7 separate regions of the Homo sapiens genome follow, and regions 1, 2, 3, 4, 5 and 7 are each linked to region 6. Evidence: promoter capture Hi-C in 16 types of primary human blood cells and fetal thymus (Javierre and others, 2016). All regions are on one chromosome and are shown on one strand. Each heading gives the region's core, a stretch centred on a gene start or on the middle of the fragment in contact. The rest is flanking DNA. Distances are from core to core; before and after follow the strand shown.

Region 1 (2,700 bases), core at 82-2,581, 680 kb after region 6:
ACTTTTCCTATGCAGACCTACGTGTTAATACTTTTTAAGCTTCTTCATTAGTTGGTTTCATATCATGTGTAAAGGCAACTCATGAAAATTTGATTTGTTTCTATCACAACAATTATAGATGACAGAGAAATAAAGTGTTATTTGTTACTTAGAACTTACGTTATAAGTGAAACTAGTTAGTCTAGCCCTTTTACCAAGTTCACATAGTTGTCACAATACAGAAATGTTTACCAAGTTGGTTTAACAGGATTTTTCCTTAAAGAAAATACAGTTAACATTGGAGAGTGCAGTGGGAAGCAAAAACTATGGAGTAATTTGAACTTAAATGTTATGATACTAATTGGGCTCAGTTACATACTAATCTTTGGCTTATGCCATTAGGCACCAGTGAATGAGGAGAGACTACTGCCAGTGAACTTTAACATCATCTCTCTGATAAGTATCTAGCTATGAACTTGTTATTCGAGACAATCATTTTAATTTCTAGAAGAGTATTTATAGAAAAAATATTACCAATAATATACCTAACTATATAACTCTAGATAGTCATTTATGTAATCATCAGATTTCTCATGTTCTCTAAACTAAATTTTATTTCAATTTTCCTACTCTTCTCTAACTTTCTCATTACCACAAAGAGTGCCACAGTTGGCACAACATAAATTTTATTTATCAAAGTAAAGCAGGTATAAAATATATCATACAACAAAAATATTGAGCATAATGATAAGTTGAGAAATCTGTAATCTATACCTTGTATAAGCAGTTGAAATAAGAATCAGAATTGCTATTAGTTTTGATCACTTACTGCATGCAAGAAAATGCACTAAATAGTTCACATACTATTATTATCTTTTTAATCTTGCCAGCAATCATGGAAGGCAGGTATCATTCACATATTACAGAAGATGGAATTGAGAACTTTTGTTGTAAGGTGACAAACCTAGGACTTGAGTAGAGCATTTCCTGCTTCTAAAGAGCGTTACTATATCATGTTATATATATATGTTATATAACTATATCATGTTATATATCAAATGTGTATATATAGTATATGTGGATGTTTGAATGTGTATGTGTATATATATGTTTATAGGCATATACATATACATGCATACATATTTGCAGTTCAATACTTGTTACTGAATTTCACCTTAGAATGTGATTGCCACTAACGTGTCTCTATTTCTGAATATTAAATTATCTGTCAGTTACACCATTTGGAGTCCAGTGTTAATCTAAAGAGGTGCTGTTCACTCTTTGTTAGTTAGTTGAATTCAGCTCTCTTCATCTTTTTAAGTTACAGGTTTTTATGGGACTTTTGTCTATAAAATATTTTAATACATGGATATTGATGTTATGTTTTCAAAAATTTAAATGTCTTCAGTAAAACCATAGTCCTTCCCAGGTACATTTTTATGTAAGTCATACAGTTTTCTTCATATTAGATGTTTGAATAGGATGGAGCTATGAAATTTCATTCCCTTATTTATTTTATTATTCATTACAGGAACACCCCTCACTAGGCCAACTTTCAGAGAAATTAATAGACAACAACATTAATGTCATCTTTGCAGTTCAAGGAAAACAATTTCATTGGTATAAGGTATGTTAACTCTGAAAATGTTAAAATTAAATTTTTTTCATTGGTAATTGAAATTAAGACATTTCTTTAGAACCACAGATAAGGATTCTGGAATTATTATACTTTGTACAATCTAAATTCTATATTGTATTACTAAAGTATCCTTTACAATGTCTTAACTTAGCATTTAAGCATAAATTCTATTTAGGTTTGTAACATCTAGAACCAAATCTGAGAACTGAGAATTGTATTGGATACACTTGAGTCCAGCCTGATGCTTAGGGTGGTCTCAAATGTGACAATGGTGGAGAAGACTTATCAGGCAAAAAGTAGTTCACAATCCGTCTTTGCATCTTGCATGTCTAGAGTGCTTCTTCTTATTCTGGTACATGAGCATATCCTCATAATAGGTTAAAATTAGAGAATATCAGCTTAATTCTAAATAGCACTGACACACCTAGCTTTGGTCTAGGTCATTCAATAACGGACCAAAAGGGGCCATCGAAGTGTCTGAGCCAGTCAAAGCCTTCACACATAAGAATAATCTTGGTGGTGTCTGGAGTCTTTTGGGCCAGGTGAGACCCTCAAGCAAAATAGACAGCAACTGTGTCACACTGGAGGTGCCATGGACCCCCCAGCATAGAACTGTTCCTCTGCAACCCTGTTATAGCTTTCTTTTCACAATCTTTAAGGCTCTTTCTTCCTAGAAACTCTCTTGTTCTCATTTTCATGAAGCTATGACACCCTAATTTTCATTGTGCATCTCTGTTTACTTGGTCTCCCTCATCTCCTTTGCTATCTTTGTTTCTCCCATCTGCTCCCTAATTATACATTTCCCCTCAGTGGCCAGTCCCCAGTGCCCTCTACTTATTTTTAAAAACTGCAGAGAAATTACATTTTCTTGGCTTCAATAAATACTTGAACCCATTTCCATTTGCCACAAGCTGGTGTTCCCCCTACCAGTTTCCCTATTACCTACCTACCTTATCTGAAAGCACTACTTTAATCGTAACACTTCTTCCTTTAGAAATCTATGGTGAAGCTTTATTTATTTATTTAGGGTAAATGTATGGAGTACAAGTGCAAGTTTGTTACATGTGTAGATTGTGTAGTGG
Region 2 (2,700 bases), core at 57-2,556, 610 kb after region 6:
CCTTCTCTACCCACTCTGTGCCCCCAGGAAGCTGGCTGGTATAGAATGCGTTAAAGGACTACTTTACCTCTAGCTTCCATTGAGTTTGGCCCATCTGGGAGCACTGGCAGGAGTTTGGAGGGTGGAGAGAAATGCAAGTCAGGGCATTTATTTGCCCCACTTTCCCCCTGCTGGTCCATTGATTTAATCCCTTCTTCCTATTTGGAGTTCCTCCTTACACAGCCCCCCATCCCCCATGTGTGAGTGTATGTGTGTGTCCCTTGAAATATTGTCTTTTACTGTTCCTCCAAGCCAGGGATGTTAAGGTTCTCCACTATTACAAGTCCCAGAGGAATATACCACCGGTTGTTCCTTTTCTTAAAACCTTCCCTACAGTCCTCAACTACTCAGTTTGTCTGCTTTCTGTTTCCTGCTGGAAGGCTAACTTAAAAAGCCATTTCAAAGTACACAATCCATCCCCAGCATTGGGATCTTAACTGGACAAAGCGTCTCATCAAGTCCTTTAATTCTTATTTCTTTGGGTCTTTTGGCTGGCCCTATCTTCTTCTAACTCCAGACTAGCAACTGTCCTCCCAACCACACCCACCCTTTCTTTCTTACTCGTTGTCAGAAAGCTTTTCCTGAGGGTTACATTCCCCAGGGTTTAAAATATAATTAAAAAGTGCTTTCGTGGTTTTCTGGTTGGAGGATGAATTTGTACAATCTCTTGGAAAAGCAAAGCTATTTGGCAGTAAGTGTTAGGAGCCTTCAGAATGTATCTAACCTTTGACCCAGTAATTTTACCTTGGGAACTTTTCCTAAGAAAAGAATCCTAAATATTAAAAAATTTGGATAAAGATGCATGCAAATATGTTTATTAATAAAATGGCCAAAAACTATAAACAGAACACACTCCAACATTGAGGTATGTCAAGTGTCTTCTGTTTGCCCCACCAGCTTCTCTCTCCAATTGCCCTCCGCTATAAGAGACCAGCCTTCCTAAGACTCTGACTGTGGCTCCACTACCTTCTGGCTTTGGTATGAACTTTACTAATGGTACGTCTTGATAAAATTGAAGATGAGAAGAAGAATGAAGTAGGAGTAGTTATTTTCCCTGTCCCCTTTCCGCAGATAGCCTCAGGCTGGCCACCATTCTTGAACAAAGGTAAAACGGTAAAACAGCCTTTCACGTGGCCCTCTTCACATAACTCAATCTCCCTAAGGTTCAGTAATATATGCTTCTCTCGTCTTTTGAAGCCTAAGGATAGTGATGCATTCTGTTCTGCGCCCTGCCCCCATGCACACTGTTTCTAACTCAGGGATACTGTGCTATCACTAACACCCTATCCCACGGTTATCAGAAAATTCTCCTCAAATTGCCCAATTTGAGTACACTAAATATATTTCACTGCCAAGAATCTGGTGCAATCACACAGCATATTTAAGTATACTAGGCGCCACAGCCACTATGGAATAATATGTAACATAGAAAGATAATCACAAAAAGTACAACAAAAAAAGATAAATCTAGTATGAACACAGGTACATAAAAATAAAGCAAATAAGATTCATCACGAAAATGTAATGTTTTCTATAATAAAAACATATTACTTTTTTAATGAGAAAATGTTTAATGACTTAAAAGGAAAGACATTGTAAATCATGCCCAGAGGAATTTGAAAAGACCTTGCAGAAGTGGCAATAGAAATGATGCTTGACAATCAAGTAGGACAAATGAGGAAAAAAAAAAAGTGGAGGAAAAAACATGTCTGGCCAAGAATGAAGCCTATGAAAAGGTAAGTGAAAGTGCTTATAGAAAACCAGGATTCTCTTCTGAAGAGCCTAGGGTAAACACAGTTGAGAAAGGGCAGAGGATTTCATAGAAAAGGGTACTGGGAATGTGATTTGGGGCCAGAATGTCCAAGGTTTCATAGCTGATGCTAAAGGTCTCTTCATGGCCTAGGAGAAAGGTTGGAGAGTGGCATTAAACGAACCATAGAAGGGTTTAAGAAGAGGACAAAAAGCTTAGATTTCTGTCTCCAAAGGAAAACTCTCCTACTACTGTGGAGAAAGGAGGGCTAAGAGTTCCCGAAAAAAAAAAAAAAAAAAAAAAAAAAAAAAGCCTGAACTATGAAGTTTTACTAAGGAGTAAAGAGGGTAAAGGGAATAGAAAAGATTTCAGATGCTTCACTAAGACACGATTAATATAATTTGTAAACTAATGAAAGACAGGGGTTGTCTAGCATACATCTGTAAAAGGGAACAATGATACCTGTGGTACACTTAAAATCTTGATAGACTTCCCTGCTACTTTAGGTTGAAAAGGGTTCGAATGGCCAAAAATATTGTTTTCATTTTATGTTGCAATTGTATATCATGCTGAAAAGCAGATCTTTATAAATAAATTTCTTATATTTCTGAACCTTCAGAGGACTAAATTCCCAGATATGGGAATTGTATTTCAAATATTTTAAAGATTTTATTACATAATGCCAACTGATTACAAAAAAAGTTAGGGCCAATTTACAATTTCACTATAAATGAGTTCCTATTTTAACCTAGCTACCACTAAATACTGTCATTTTTTTAAGTCTTTTTTTTTTTTTTTTTTTTTTGAGACGGAGTCTCTCACTCTTGCCCAGGCTGGAGTGCAGTGGCGCCATCTCGGCTCGCTGCAAGCTCCGCCTCCCGGGTTCACTCCATTCTCCTACCTCAGCCTCC
Region 3 (2,700 bases), core at 96-2,595, 780 kb after region 6:
AGAAAAGTGGGAAATCTAATAGGATTTTCTGCCAGCAGTATAAAGATGAAGAAGAAGCAAAACCTGTTACCTAGGAGGAGATAGCAAGGAAATTTGCCTGTCTCAAGCCTTGTCATAGAGGAAGATGAGGTGGGGATGGAGAGAAAAGGGAGAATTCATAACCACAAAATTGCCCTCATAGAGATTTACAGTCTGAATTTACAGCACCTCTATTGTCTGTCAAATCTCTGGTAGAGAATAAAATTTAAAGAATTGGATTTAAATGCCAAGATGACTTTCAGACACAAATAAAAATCTAGGATAGAAATTAGTAAACAGATTCAAACAAATTGTCCAAAATGTAGCCCAGAAAAAATAAAAAACCTATGAAATTAAAAATAGGTTAAGATAACACATCTAGTCAGGGCTCCAAAAGAAATAATAAAGGAAATTGAGATGAAGCAAAATTAGAATAGATAAAGGGTAAGAATTTCTCAGAAATGTTGAAATACACTAGTCATGAGAATGAAAAATGGCAACTATAAATTCAAAATCCAAATGCAATTCCCAAAATCAATAAATTTAACCAAACAAATATAAAATTTCTGTATGGGTTAAAAAAACTCATAATTAAAATGAAAAAACAACAATAAACTAGTAAGAAAAGAGTTAAGGAGAAACAGAAAAGCTTAGGCAAATAGGAAACACATAATAAAATAATAGAACCAATAACATATATTAGTGATCATTATACATTTAAAATAATTCTTCATTTAAAATAAATTTTGTAATATTAAATTCAATATTTTTAAAAACCTGTTAAGTTTTGTTTGTAAGAGTCCCATTATCATAAAGAAATGAAAGAAAATGTGGAAAGAGTGAAAAAGATATATCAGATAAATACTAAACTGAAGAATGCTGGAATACCTATATTAAAACCGGACAAAATAAACATAAAGGCAAAAAAATATTAAAGATAAAGATGGTCGGCCGGGCGTGGTAGCTCACGCCTGTAATCCCAGCACTTTGGGAGGACAAGGCAGGTGGATTACAAGGTCAGGAGATTGAGACCATCCTGGCTAACATGGTGAAACCCCGTCTCTACTAAAAATACAAAAAAATTAGCCAGGCGTGGTGGCAGGTGCCTGTAGTCCCAGCTACTCGGGAGGCTGAGGCAGGAGAACGGCATGAATGCGAGAGGTGGAGCTGGCAGTGAGCCGAGATCGTGCCACTGCACCCCAGCCTGGGCAGCAGGGGGAGACTCTGTCCCAAAAAGGAAAAGAAAAGATAAAAATGGTCACTAAAAAACTAAAAATTGAATTTGAAAAAGAAAAATTGCAATTTTTAATGTTTATATACATAGTAACAAACTTTAAAATGAAGGGCAGAGGGTGGAATTCCATATGACTGATTAACCACAAAGAAGGACCAAAATGGTAAGTAGATAACCATACATCAAATAGAGCTTCTAAGAGAGAACACTGGAATTCAGCAGGAAAGTGACAGGGAACAACTGAGGCATAGAAAGAGAGGAAAGCGAAACAGCCAGCCTGGCTGGGATTGGTTCAAAGCTAGGAGAAACTCTCTATTGTAGGGAAAAGACAACTAAGATATCCCCAGTTGTTCATATTCTCACTATGGACCCCTGCAATCCTAGCCACAAGAGAGTTTCTTTGCCCTTATGGACTCTGATACTAGTACAGGAGATGTCTGGAGTCTACATAGTGACATTATTCCAGAGAAGGGGTTTGTGCTGAGTCCCACCCACCCCCTGAGACCCAAGCAGCTGCAGCACAGGGCCCTTTTGAGAGCCCAGTCCCCACCAGCTATATCCGCCTCTGGAGCCCAACAGCCCCTGAATCTCCACATTCCTGAAGCTCCACTTCCATCCCCCAACATCCATTCAGAGCACTGTAGCATTGCACCACCAGATGCACCCAGCAATGTGGCTGCGTCTCAAGGACTCTAACCAAGGCAGTGTCCTATACCCTGGGGAACAGGCAGTGCAGCACACTAGGAAAGCTGCCCCCAGGACAAAAGAAGCCAAAGCTTACTCTGCTTGCAGCCTAAGAACTAACTGCCTAAGGAGATTACCGCTGACAACAACCTCACTTCCTCCAGCCTCCTGTATGTACCTTCAGAGGGCCTGGGACTGGCCTGCTCAGGCACTGGGCCTAAGAACAAGCCTGTGTCACTCAGTGCCACTGGTGCCCACATGCATGGTCTGGGGTCCCAAGGATTGATCCACTCAACCTGCTCTGGCTGGCCTGTGCATTCCACCAGGGGGCCTAATGACAGGTCCACCCCACCCACCACTGCCATTGTTGAACATGTGTGCCATCCAGGGATCTGAGGAAAGGCCAGCCCCACCCATTTCCACTGCCACAAGTACCTGTGTGCACTATCAGGGGGCCTGAGAACTGAACCACCAAGCCAACCATCGCCACTGCTAGCACCCCCTACATGCCACTCAGGGGCCTGAGGATTGGACCGCCATTACTATTGCCACCACTGATGTCAACAGGGGCCCAAGAACCCACCCGTTCACCCACTCAGTCCAGCCACCATTGCCACCCAAGCAAGTCACCCGGAGGCCAAAAGGACCTGCCTGCCTAGACCCTTAATCACCATGCCTGGAACATCTCCCAGGGACCTGAGAAAAATCATGCCTGATGTCCTTGTCCCCAGTGGAGCCTTGCCACAGCCTCCACTAACAACTAA
Region 4 (2,700 bases), core at 163-2,662, 750 kb after region 6:
CATTTCATCAAATAATTAGTTCCCTTCTCTGAAATTTTTACAGTAATGGAAGACATAGCATTGGCTAATCAAATGAAATGTAAAGAACAACAATGAAGAATAAAAACCTACAACAAGATGATACTCTAATCAGAGGACATGGAAATGGAAGAAAGTGTGTGCTATGAGATGTTAGCATATATTTCCTTTGTTTATAAGCCAAATAGGATTAGGCTTCCAGAATTTTTGGAAAGAAAATTAAATCAACGGAATTCTATTTAACTGATTGGTGTATTGTTTATTGACACTGTCTCTTCTGTTCCCTGCCTTATCTCAGTTTGCTTTAATGCTTCAGTGCCTCAACAGTTCAGTTGGAGTAAGTGCCCAGCAAATGTATAAAGCCAATTAATGCAACCCAGTTACCATTCAAATTTGCCAAGACAAAAGAAGTGTAACCTTCTTTAAGTTCTTTGGCTTCATTAAACTTCTATTTATTTAATACTTCCATTAACAGGCAATTAATTCAAATCAAACGAGTTTGGAATGAGGATAAAAGCAGAACAGCAGCAGTGAAAGGTGAGACACAAGGGCCAAACTGTGGTGCAGAAGCTGAGGAAACTCAGGTGAGGTTAGGAGAGTCTAAATTCCTCCAAAGAGGAATACACTTTCTTTCCTAAAGTGTTTTTCTTGTTTGTTTGTTTGTTTTTTTTTGAGACGTAGTCTTGCTCTGTCGCCCAGGCTGGAGTGCAGTGGTGCCATCTCGGCTCACTGCAAGCTCTGCCTCCCGGGTTCACACCATTCTCCTGCCTCAGCCTCCCAAGTACCTGGGACTACAGGCGCCCACCACCACATCCAGCTAATTTTTTTGTATTTTTAGTAGAGACGGAGTTTCACCAGGTTAGCCAGGATGGTCTCGATCTCCTGACTTCGTGATCCACCTGCCTTGGCTTCCCAAAGTGCTGGGATTACAGGCGTGAGACACCGCACCCGGCCTCTTTCCTAAAGTCTTAAGACCATCACTAGTTGAGGAAGAGGACTGACAGCGAGTGTGATGAGTTGAGAAAGCAGTCTCTATGGGCCCCGCAGTTAGGAGAGTGAAGGCAAGAAAAGGATGTTCCTGGCAACGAATCAGTCACGTCTCTTTGTGAAGCAGGCCCTAGGGATCACCCTCCCCGGAGTAGGTCCTGACAAACTATGGAGATGGGCCAAGGAACAGGAGCAGCAATAGGCTTAGAAATGGTCTCTGGAGACCACTTAAAGTCTAAAATTTTGATGGATTGAAATGCTATCATTCTGGTAGTTAAAAGAAAATTGTCATCATAAACACTAATTTGCAAATAGCAGGCACACATACCAAGACATGTACTCATTTTTGTTCCAATATAAATGAAGAACTCTTTACTGGGCAATTATATATGAGGGAAAAGTCTTTAGCCTTGAGAAGTAACAGCTCACTCAACAGTAAGATCAAAGAGTGGCATGATGTCTTCAGCACACTATTTTAATGTTTAGCCAGGAAAAAACAAATATTCTACTAATCCTTGGTTTAGTTTCAATGTGTGACTTTCAATCTGGCTTTTGAATATAATCACTCAGTTCTATCATTATAGATATAATTAAAATGATGGAGAAATTATAGATTATGATACAAAACAGAATATGACTTTGCCCTTATGTCTCAGGCACTTTATATAGGGTATCTCATTTGACTTTCACAACAAATCAGAAAAATTGAGTAAATTACTCATTGTCCAAGTTGATACAGCTTACTGGAAAAGAAGCAAAGATTTGATTTTAAGATAGTCTGGCTTCATGTTCTATCCATTCAACCATACTGCCTTCCTTCATTTCTTGACGTAAGAAGGTGAAGGATTGACACTTCAACTGGAAGAGACACAAACCATGGATTATCTTTCCAACTGAGGCATAAATGCATTTTCATAATACAAAGACATTAGGAAAATCTTTAAAGGAAGTGAGAAAAGGCCCTATCCACTGGAAAACTTTCTTGATCTTCCAAATATTTCCAAAATACTGGGGATTCCACATCCAGTCAGTAGGAACCAAATACCAAAGAACTGATTTTCCACATGGCAGGGGATTCCTCAGTCACCACCTTTATTTTCCCCTTCTCAGCACCAAGAAATATTACACCACAGAAATGTATATATGGAATATTTAAGATATAAAATGTGTATTAAAAAACAACAAATAGTCAGGGACTCACCTCCCAACTTAAGAAATACCACCTTGCAAAAATTTTGGAAGTCTCTGAGAACTGATCTTTGATCACAGCCCACTCACTCTCTCACAGAATAACTATTACTATAAATTTCATGCCTATTTCCATATATTTTTATACTTTTACTCCATCTGTATACATTCTTAAACAACATATACCATAGTTTTTTCATGTTTCCAAAACTAAATGTAAATGGGTTCATATAGTATAAATTCTTATGCAACCTATTTTTTTTTAATTAAGTTCTGGGATATATGTGCAGAACGTGCAGGTTTGTTACATAGGTATGCACGTGCCATGGTGGTTTGCTGCACTAATCAACCCGTCATCTACATTAGGTATTCCTACTAATGCTATCCCTCCCCTAGTCCCCACCCCACGACAGGCCCCGGTGTGTGACATTCCCCTCTGTGTCCCTGTGTTCTCATTGTTCAACTTCCACTTATGAGTGAGAACATGCAGTGTGTGGTTTTCTGTTC
Region 5 (2,700 bases), core at 72-2,571, 720 kb after region 6:
TATTAAGTTACCTTGATAAGAAAATTCAAATTGCAAAATATTTATTTTTAAAATGTATTTGTCTTAGTGTGGCAGACATACTACAGAGGAACTGCCTGGTAAAATAGAAATTACCAAATATATTGGATTAGCACTTACCCACCCCCTCGGATCAGAATCTTAAGACACAACAGTAAAACTTTGGTGATTTCCATGATCCAAGATGAAAAACAAAGAAGAAAGTCTTATACTGTAAGTAATAGTGGGGATTTTTCTCTCTTATATTAGAACTTAGCTAAAGTTCAGCTGGAATTTACAGGGCTGAATGGTCAGAATCAAATGTATGGCTTGAACAGAAAACACAAATGAGTTGTCATAGGAATGACAGGCTAGGACACTTGATGAATTCCAGTTTTATGTCTTACTCACAATCAAAATACTGTGTCCAAATTGTACCTTGAACAATTTCGGAGTCATCTGCCTGGGAAAGTCTGTATTCCCCTTTCTTCAATACTTGGACACTCTGATTTTTGGTACGTTTTTCTAGTTAAGCCTTGTGGATGCAAAGTAAATAATTTATTAGTTCTAGGGAAATATGTAATGGTACAGGAATGAACAGCATAACACAGCTTATGAAAGGACTGTTTTTAAAGTATACAGCTATGTAGAGAGTATTCTTCAGTGCCTGGCTATAAATCATCCATGAAAACCAATAGAGACCCAGTCCAGAATGTTAGAACTGAGAGGGAATATAGGAAGGACCCAGAGGGAAGAGGAATACCTTGCCCATTCCCTGTCAGCTCCCAGAGGGCAATCCACATTGTGGAACTAATTTCCACAAACACACAGAAGTCCACCCTCTGCACATCCCCAAGCTCTTCTTCTCTGTTCATACCCTCCTCCTTGTAAGGGGTGTCTGCTGTGTTATTTAACAATATTCAATTCTTTTGTAAAAGACAAGAAAAGCAAATAGAGTTGATACAACTCTTAAGAAATACTCAATATAAATGTAAGTATAAAAGGAGCTTGTGAGACACAGAAGCTTATAGTAGGTATTAAGCATAGATAGCAAGTTAATGACCTGTGAACTATGTCAGACATAGGGAAAGAAAGAAGCACATCAGTGTGTTAAACAAAGGTGAGGATGGAAAGCCCAAAGGCAGCAAAAATTCATGGTCTGTTAAATGTTGATGAGTTAAGAGAGAGGCCAAATATAATATTCATGGGACACTGAATAGGCACGAGAGTTTAAATTGCCTCAACTCACTGGTGACACCCATTCTGGCCAGGTATCCTCTGCCTGAGATGTGCAGATAGAATCCACAGCTGCTCAGTAAGTTAATGTGGAAGCTACTGCTGAGACCAAGCCGATTTGCCCCTGTGTGTCTTCTACAGTGCAAGTGTTGACTCCAGGCACTGTCCATCTGCTGAGTCCCTTGCTCACAATCAAACCTGGTCCTTGTAATCATGCAGACAATGGAGAGAGCTGATAAGGTGGAAAGAGAGATAGGACCTAGAAACATTGCGTGATGCAGAATTCACATAGCATGGTTCTTTTAACCCTCTACCCTCTCCGGTGTCTTCACCTACACCATATCTTTTTTCTTGCATCTCACTCTGTTTTACGTTGATTCAATTAACCACAAGCTTTTACAGTTTCAGTTTAGTCTCTGAATCTTTCTATTCTGTGACCTCTGGGATAGTTTTCCTGGTTGTACACTGGAAGATTACCATTGCATCAAGGTCATTCCCTTAAAACATCCTGCTTCTCCATCTCCACTGTGGACTCTCAGCCTTGCTGTTCTGCCTGGAGAAGAACCGCCACACGTAAGTAAGGATCCCAGCAGGCTCCAGATACTACTGTTGAGCTCCTCACACTTAGAACCTCTTAGTGTCATCTAAGTCTAAACTACGAAGTGCCTCCCCATACCTGAGACTTTTTAACTGAGTAGGCTAATTTTCTTTTCTTTTCTTTTTTTGAGATGAAGTCTCACTCTGTTGCACAGGCTGGAGTGCAGTGGCACAATCTTGGCTCACTGCAACCTCTGCCTCCCATGTTCAAGTGATCCTCCTGCCTCAGCCTCCCAAGTAGCTAGAACTACTGGTGCCCACCACCACACCAGGCTAATTTTTGTATTTTTACTAGTGGCAGGGTTTCACCATGTTGGCCAGGCTGGTCTCGAACTCTTGACCTCAAGTGATCCACCAGCCTCGGCCTCCCAAAGTGCTGGGATTACAGGTGTCAGCCACAGTGCCCAGCACGAGTAGGTGAATTTTCTACATATAATTTCCTATTCTTTTACTGTCTTTAGGTTGCTGGTTTTCCATTTTATTATTTTGTTTTAGTTTTCTTATTTACTTATTTTTTGCTTATCATTACCAAACCCTAACTATTAATGGAATTCAATTGGTTATTAGCTCTCTAATAAAGGAATATGACAAAGAGAACAAAATTTTTTGCATTATAATTTAATCAGTGTCACTTGACTGTGAACATGTAGTTTATCAGAAGGAAACACGTACCCAACAAGGGGAAGCTGTGAAAGGCAAAGGATTCTTACATATTTAATATCTTTAAGTGTTTTCTTCTGTTGGGAAAAAAGAATGGCATATTACCTGTAGCTGGTTTTATAATATTTTATGTCATAGATTATTTAGTCATGAAAATTAAGAGTGGGATAAAAGTCATATCAATGGAATGTCCTCCCAATCTAAATAGTG
Region 6 (2,700 bases), core at 5-2,504:
TATCTCAAGTGTTCGGTATGTAATATAAACATACAAGAAGTGTATATTGGTGCTTGGAAGAATCTGCAGATTCTAGACATGGGTGGAGGTCCAGGATCCCTTAAGAAACTGATAAAAACTTCCGATGCAGTGCCCAAGGAACTTCACATAGGAATTCCTGAAGGGCAATCATGAATCCCTAGAGAATCCATTCCCTCTAGTTTTAGAACCCCGCTTTTAAACCAAAGTATAGTCCAGAGGAATACTCAAGCACATGCCCGCGCCCCCCGCCCCACACCTCTGTAATTCTAAGTTTTCAAGTCACTTTTGAATACCGTAATATAAATGCATACGTTTTGGTTTTTTCTCTCCCCAAAGCAACAGGCTCACTAGTTCGACTGAATAAATCTTCTTAAAAACAACAAAATCCCGCTAAACTAATGGCATTTTCATAATCCCCAGATCAGGTCCAAGAGAAGAGAAAATGGGGAAATTACCAGAGCGAAATCCAACAACAAAAAAGGTCCTTCATGTTTTACAAATAGAACGGTTGTACTAATGCTTCGTATGCTATCTTCTATGGAATGAGAATCTACTCAAGCACTGCAAACCAGATTTTTATCGTCAAATGAGAAAGCATCATCCGTAAGGGGATAAATGAAACGTTGAATGCCAAACAGAACTGGGCCTACTAGGTCTCCAGATCCCTGGTCTTTTCCTACCCCTACACCAGGGTTCTGGAGCAAGAATCTCCACTCCCTCCGCCCACACCTGAACTTCATCTTTAAGTTTTCTTCTCTATCTATGAAAGGGACCCTGTATAGATCTTTACCAGAGCGGTACTGGCCTTGAGGGACGGATCGCGACTCTAGAAATCCAGGGGGCTAAGCTCTGGGGGGCAATGCGACCTTTGCCATTTGCCCCTTTCTGCTGCGTCGTCAGCACATCCACCTGCTTTACTTCCCGTGCACAAAAGAAGGAACAGGCAAAGAGATCGGTACCTCTCAGAATAGCGAAGGAGCTCCGCATCAAGCTGTTCTCGAATGCCGGTGCGTTTCCTGTTAAGGTAGCGGGGCGACAGCGCGATGTGCCTTTGGTGCGGCCCGGCCACCAGGCATGAGTAGCGACTGTTCACCAGCGCACAAGCAGCGGCATAAGTCGGCAACTCTAGGCAAGGCAGGACGCCAGCCTGCCCTACCAGAGACCCATCAGAAGCCGCCGCTGGCCGCGGCGCCTCTGAGCAACCTGCAGCCATGCTGCTTGTCAAGGTTCCCACGGCGCGCGCCGTTGACGCAAGCACAATCCCATGTCCCCGGCGCTCGTTTTACGCCATCCACCAACGACCACGCCCCTAGGAATTTCCCCTCTTTTCGCTGCATTACGCAGCCCTGACCAGCAGGGGGAACCGCGTTTTCGCGCTTCGAGAACGGGAGCTTAGAGCCTCGGAAATGCATTGAGCACGCAGGAAAGCCAACCGACTGCTCTTTTAAGGGCAGGCAAATGTGTGTTTTCGCACAGAGGCTTATTGGATTAAGTAGGTAGCTTAAAAATGGGGGTTCTCACTTTGATCATTTCCAGTAGTGAGGTGGGTTTGGTAGAATTTTACAGGCTTGGACTGTACAATAAAAAATCAAAATATTTATGGAGTATATTTTATGCAGTACACGGAATCCTAAGCAGGCCTGATAATTGTAATGCAACGCATCTGAAAACGAACCCACTAGTTCTCTCCTGTCCCGCTTCTCTTCTCATTATGCAACTGCTAAATCAGGGAATCATACAGCCAAGCTGTCAGCCTCGGATCCTCTTTTGTATCCCCAAGTATCAAATCAGCCTGAAGACCTGTATTGCCCAAAGTGGAAATATCATTCTATTTGGACACTATTCTCTTTCCCTGCCGCCAAAACCGCAGGACTCCCTGCCTGTGGAAGCCTAGCTCAATGGTCAGGAGGACACTCTGGGGCAGCCAGATCTTCCCTGAAATACATATGATCGTGTTGTGCCCTGTTTAAGCCCTACATAGGCACCCCATTTTCTCTAGGACAACACAAACTCATGAAAATGGCTTATAAGTTACAAGGCCATTTTGTGATCTGCGTGGGCACACAGCCTCTCTCTTCAGCTTCATTTGTCACACTCCCCACCCTAATATTATCATGCTGCTTGATCTACTTTCAGGTCTCTCTTTGTGCAGTCTCACGCTGTTCCTTCCACCAGGGAATATAATAGCATTTTTCACAAGGGTAAATTCTACTCATGTATGAATTTCTAGCTTAGATTTTACATTCTATACCTTTGCAAAGAGTTTTCAAGCACCCCACTCCTCTTTCTCTATAAGGATTAGGTAGTTACCCATCTATGTTGGTTTTTATGTTAATTTTTTATTAACTGTCTTTGCTTGCCTGTTCCATCAATAGATTCCTACACTCACTAAAGTGGGGACCATAATATCTGTATTGTTCACTACAGTAGCCCCCCACAATTTATCCCTCCTCCAAAGAAACGAAACCAAGAAAAACCCAACCAATACATCTTGAATGAATAACCTGATAGTGAGTTAATAAATAATAAGTGATAAAGAGCTCACAGCCTAAGTGGAAGTGGGATCTAAACATAAACATATAACAGGTTATGCTGGATAAGTGCCAAGAGAAATGTATAGCAGTGATGTGAGTATTAACATACTCCCTCATCTCCTAAATACTGCAAAAAGCCTCTTAG
Region 7 (2,700 bases), core at 162-2,661, 630 kb after region 6:
GAGAAAAAAAAGAAACATTCAAGAAGGGAGTTACAGTTTCAGACATCCTCAGTTTTGGTTAAAAAGGTCCCTTTTGATGAGTGTGTCAGTCACTACCAGCTAGAACAAGGGCCCTAAAGTGAGGGCCAACGTATATAATCAGAGAGCCTGACGTCAGGTTGATACTGAAAATATGAGAACTAAATGGCATTACTACCAGTCTTTAGTTTAGAAGATATAGCATGTTTGATGCCTTGTAAAGAAGGTATCCAAGGCCACATGATACTTTGTAACATCTGATGGGACTGTGGTCACATGGGAGAAGGGAAGGGGGCTCTTGAGCACGTGCCTGTGGCCCACTGAAGACAGCATAGCCAGCTGGAGATTGGGCCCACCCACCCTTTTAGGGCTGTCCGGGGCTGACAGTTGGCTACTTGGGGGTCAGCATAGCACTGATGCCAGAACTCACTTGCCTGAGGTTGGATTATCTGGTTATAGACTTGTCTGGGCAGAGATTGACTTTTGGGCATTATGAAAAGTCAGACATCAGGGCTTTTTGGACAAATTCTGCCTCTTAGGTATATGTTTGAGTTAAAAAAAAAAAAAAAGATGTGTTACTTCTGACTGCTTTCTACTGGTGGGGTAGAAAAGTTGGGTCAGCCAGAACGATCATTGGATGTTACACTCCTCCTTCTCACAGGGCAAACTTCTCAGATACTGCCCAGGTGGTATGTGATATTTTCTCCTATACTGCGTAATTATCAATTCCTTTGGGATTAATCTTAATGAAAAAAAGCCCACATGCAGAACCAGAGTATTCTTGGCCCTTTGAACAAACTAGATGCTTCTAGCATGATATGAAAGAACATCAAGCTCCAGAGGACGTAAGAATTGGCCTCCAAGTTGTATAATATAAAGCTGCCCTAGTGACAGAGGACCCACTAACTGGTCAGTCCACTTGAGGATCTTTGTTAGGGCTCTGTATTGACAATCTAGGAACTAAATACCCTGAAAGTCCCAAGAAATATAGAATTACCTCAACGTTTTGGAGCTTACCTCTCCAGCCTAAGTGGCACTTTTACACATGAATTTCCTAAGGAGGAATTTGGATTCCCAAAAACATTATCCTTAAAAGTGCAAACTCACCTTTCTAGGCCTCTAAGGATGCTGTACAGTAAGTGGCCCAGGATGGTCTAAATGAGTTGGTTACACAAGACCAGGTTGTTGGATGTTGCCTAGATATACAGTAAACTCTTCCATCCAAAAGATCTCAAGAGGTGCCACATAAACACTGGGAGACTGGCTGGAAATTACAGAATCTGAGAGGGTTTTGCCAGTAACTTCTATACCCATGGCACATTTGGCAAAAGATTTTTCATTCATTTTTTTTTTTTTGGAATTATTGGTGTGCAAAAGTGAAAGGTGGTGGGAATCTGGGCACTTTAGGTTGTTCAAGACCAAAGGAATCAATGGTCACAGATATTCACACTGCATTTGAGAGCACAGAAACCTAGAAACACAAAGTTTGGAGTTTGGTTGTCATTTGTTCGCAAGTACGGCAGAGCCTTCCAGGCCAGAAGAAACAGATTAACTTAGCTGTCTCTGCATAATCAATGGATATGCAGTGTGGGTCTGACAAGGTGAAGAGACATCCTATTGCCTCAGTCATGGTGAGGGTGTAATTCCTGTTTTTCCCATTCAAATATAAATTGGTTGTATATTTTGAAAGGCAGCTTGCAGATCTTCAGTAGACACGGCAGAGTTGAACCTGAAAGGGGTTAAATGTTAGAAGACAAAAGAGATCTGAGGTCCCAGGAAAAGCTAAGTAGGAAACAGAGGGGCTCAGATTTCAAAGTTTAGAAATGGGATGTTGGATATTGGCAGACAATTTCATGTCTCTGAACAGCTTTGCTGCCGTTTGGCCAGTTTTTATTGATCCGGCTGCCTGGGCTGACTCTCAGTAGTAACCTAACAATACTGTGTGGTTTTTAACAGATAATGTATATTTGGGAACCAGACAGAATAAAGATGCAATCATGTAATAAAATGGCCCAGGAAATTCCTTAAGGAAGTTTTCTCTGGCCCTCCCACTCCCCCTTGAGGTGACATCGTCCTGTTATCTGCTGCCTGCTGTACCCTGCCTGTTCCATTTCATAGCACTCTTGTTAAGTTCTGTCTTATGTCAGGTTTTGCTGTTATTCTACAACAGGAATACAAGCAGGTGCCCTATCCCTAAAACCCTGCACAATGCCATGGCTTAATTGCAAGTATTAAGTAATTACAAAAAAAAATTCAGGATGGAGAAGCCATCAAAATTATTACAATCTCAAAATTCCTTAAGAAGCGGAGTTTTCTGCTCTCCACTCCCAGATGATAATGTCCTGTCTCTTTTGACTAAATATTCACCCATTCTCTTCCTCTAATCAAGTAGCTTTTGATAATACTAACAGAGCTACCTATGAGCAGGTAAAAAATAGTTATAGGAGAATCCTGGTCACCTAGAGTGCCTATGAAAAGTGATGTTTTAATTAATTAAATTCTATGGCCATTTATATTCTGACTCTTGCTTTTGAACATCTTTTTAATATGTGTGTGTACACTTTCCTTGCTTGGTGAGTACATCATTTAAACTTTCTTTGGTATTTGAAAAAGGCCTTGCAGTTATCCTTTGATCACATTTGCAAATTTTCACCATTACTATTTAATCAATAAATGAATTCA

What was found. Contacts are between HindIII fragments. The CHiCAGO score rates a contact against its expected background, and 5 or more counts as called.
Region 1: a contact is called between a fragment that was not itself captured here and the fragment with the promoter of POLR1F in region 6, in 1 of 17 cell types (monocytes). The highest score is 5.2, in monocytes.
Region 2: a contact is called between a fragment that was not itself captured here and the fragment with the promoter of POLR1F in region 6, in 3 of 17 cell types (total B cells, naive B cells and erythroblasts). The highest score is 7.9, in total B cells.
Region 3: a contact is called between a fragment that was not itself captured here and the fragment with the promoter of POLR1F in region 6, in 1 of 17 cell types (monocytes). The highest score is 5.2, in monocytes.
Region 4: a fragment that was not itself captured here is called in contact with the fragment with the promoter of POLR1F in region 6 in 1 of 17 cell types (monocytes); the score reaches 7.3 in monocytes.
Region 5: a contact is called between a fragment that was not itself captured here and the fragment with the promoter of POLR1F in region 6, in 1 of 17 cell types (monocytes). The highest score is 6.4, in monocytes.
Region 7: a fragment that was not itself captured here is called in contact with the fragment with the promoter of POLR1F in region 6 in 1 of 17 cell types (naive B cells); the score reaches 6.7 in naive B cells.

Annotation. Positions count from the first base shown.
Region 1 is chr7:20,389,893-20,392,592 of GRCh38, forward strand. It overlaps ITGB8 (integrin subunit beta 8), which reads left to right. Exons shown (of 14, transcript NM_002214.3): 7 at 1,511-1,606. Among named protein-coding and RNA genes, the nearest start is that of ITGB8-AS1, 59 kb to the left of the region's middle. The HindIII fragment of the contact is 2,588 bases long and covers 38-2,625 here.
Region 2 is chr7:20,319,877-20,322,576 of GRCh38, forward strand. No RefSeq gene overlaps it. Among named protein-coding and RNA genes, the nearest start is that of ITGB8, 9.7 kb to the right of the region's middle. The HindIII fragment of the contact is 1,389 bases long and covers 613-2,001 here.
Region 3 is chr7:20,484,952-20,487,651 of GRCh38, forward strand. No RefSeq gene overlaps it. Among named protein-coding and RNA genes, the nearest start is that of ABCB5, 130 kb to the right of the region's middle. RefSeq lists an enhancer at 2,115-2,614. The HindIII fragment of the contact is 1,361 bases long and covers 666-2,026 here.
Region 4 is chr7:20,453,168-20,455,867 of GRCh38, forward strand. No RefSeq gene overlaps it. Among named protein-coding and RNA genes, the nearest start is that of ITGB8-AS1, 120 kb to the left of the region's middle. The HindIII fragment of the contact is 6,142 bases long and covers 1-2,700 here.
Region 5 is chr7:20,430,872-20,433,571 of GRCh38, forward strand. No RefSeq gene overlaps it. Among named protein-coding and RNA genes, the nearest start is that of ITGB8-AS1, 100 kb to the left of the region's middle. The HindIII fragment of the contact is 605 bases long and covers 1,020-1,624 here.
Region 6 is chr7:19,707,783-19,710,482 of GRCh38, forward strand. It overlaps POLR1F (RNA polymerase I subunit F), which reads right to left and starts at 1,255. Exons shown (of 4, transcript NM_001002926.2): 1 at 981-1,255. The coding sequence starts at 1,234. RefSeq lists enhancers at 379-983, 948-1,017, 984-1,586, 1,128-1,407. The HindIII fragment of the contact is 8,345 bases long and covers 1-2,700 here.
Region 7 is chr7:20,341,318-20,344,017 of GRCh38, forward strand. The region is part of intron 1 of ITGB8 (integrin subunit beta 8); the gene reads left to right. Among named protein-coding and RNA genes, the nearest start is that of ITGB8-AS1, 11 kb to the left of the region's middle. The HindIII fragment of the contact is 3,904 bases long and covers 1-2,700 here.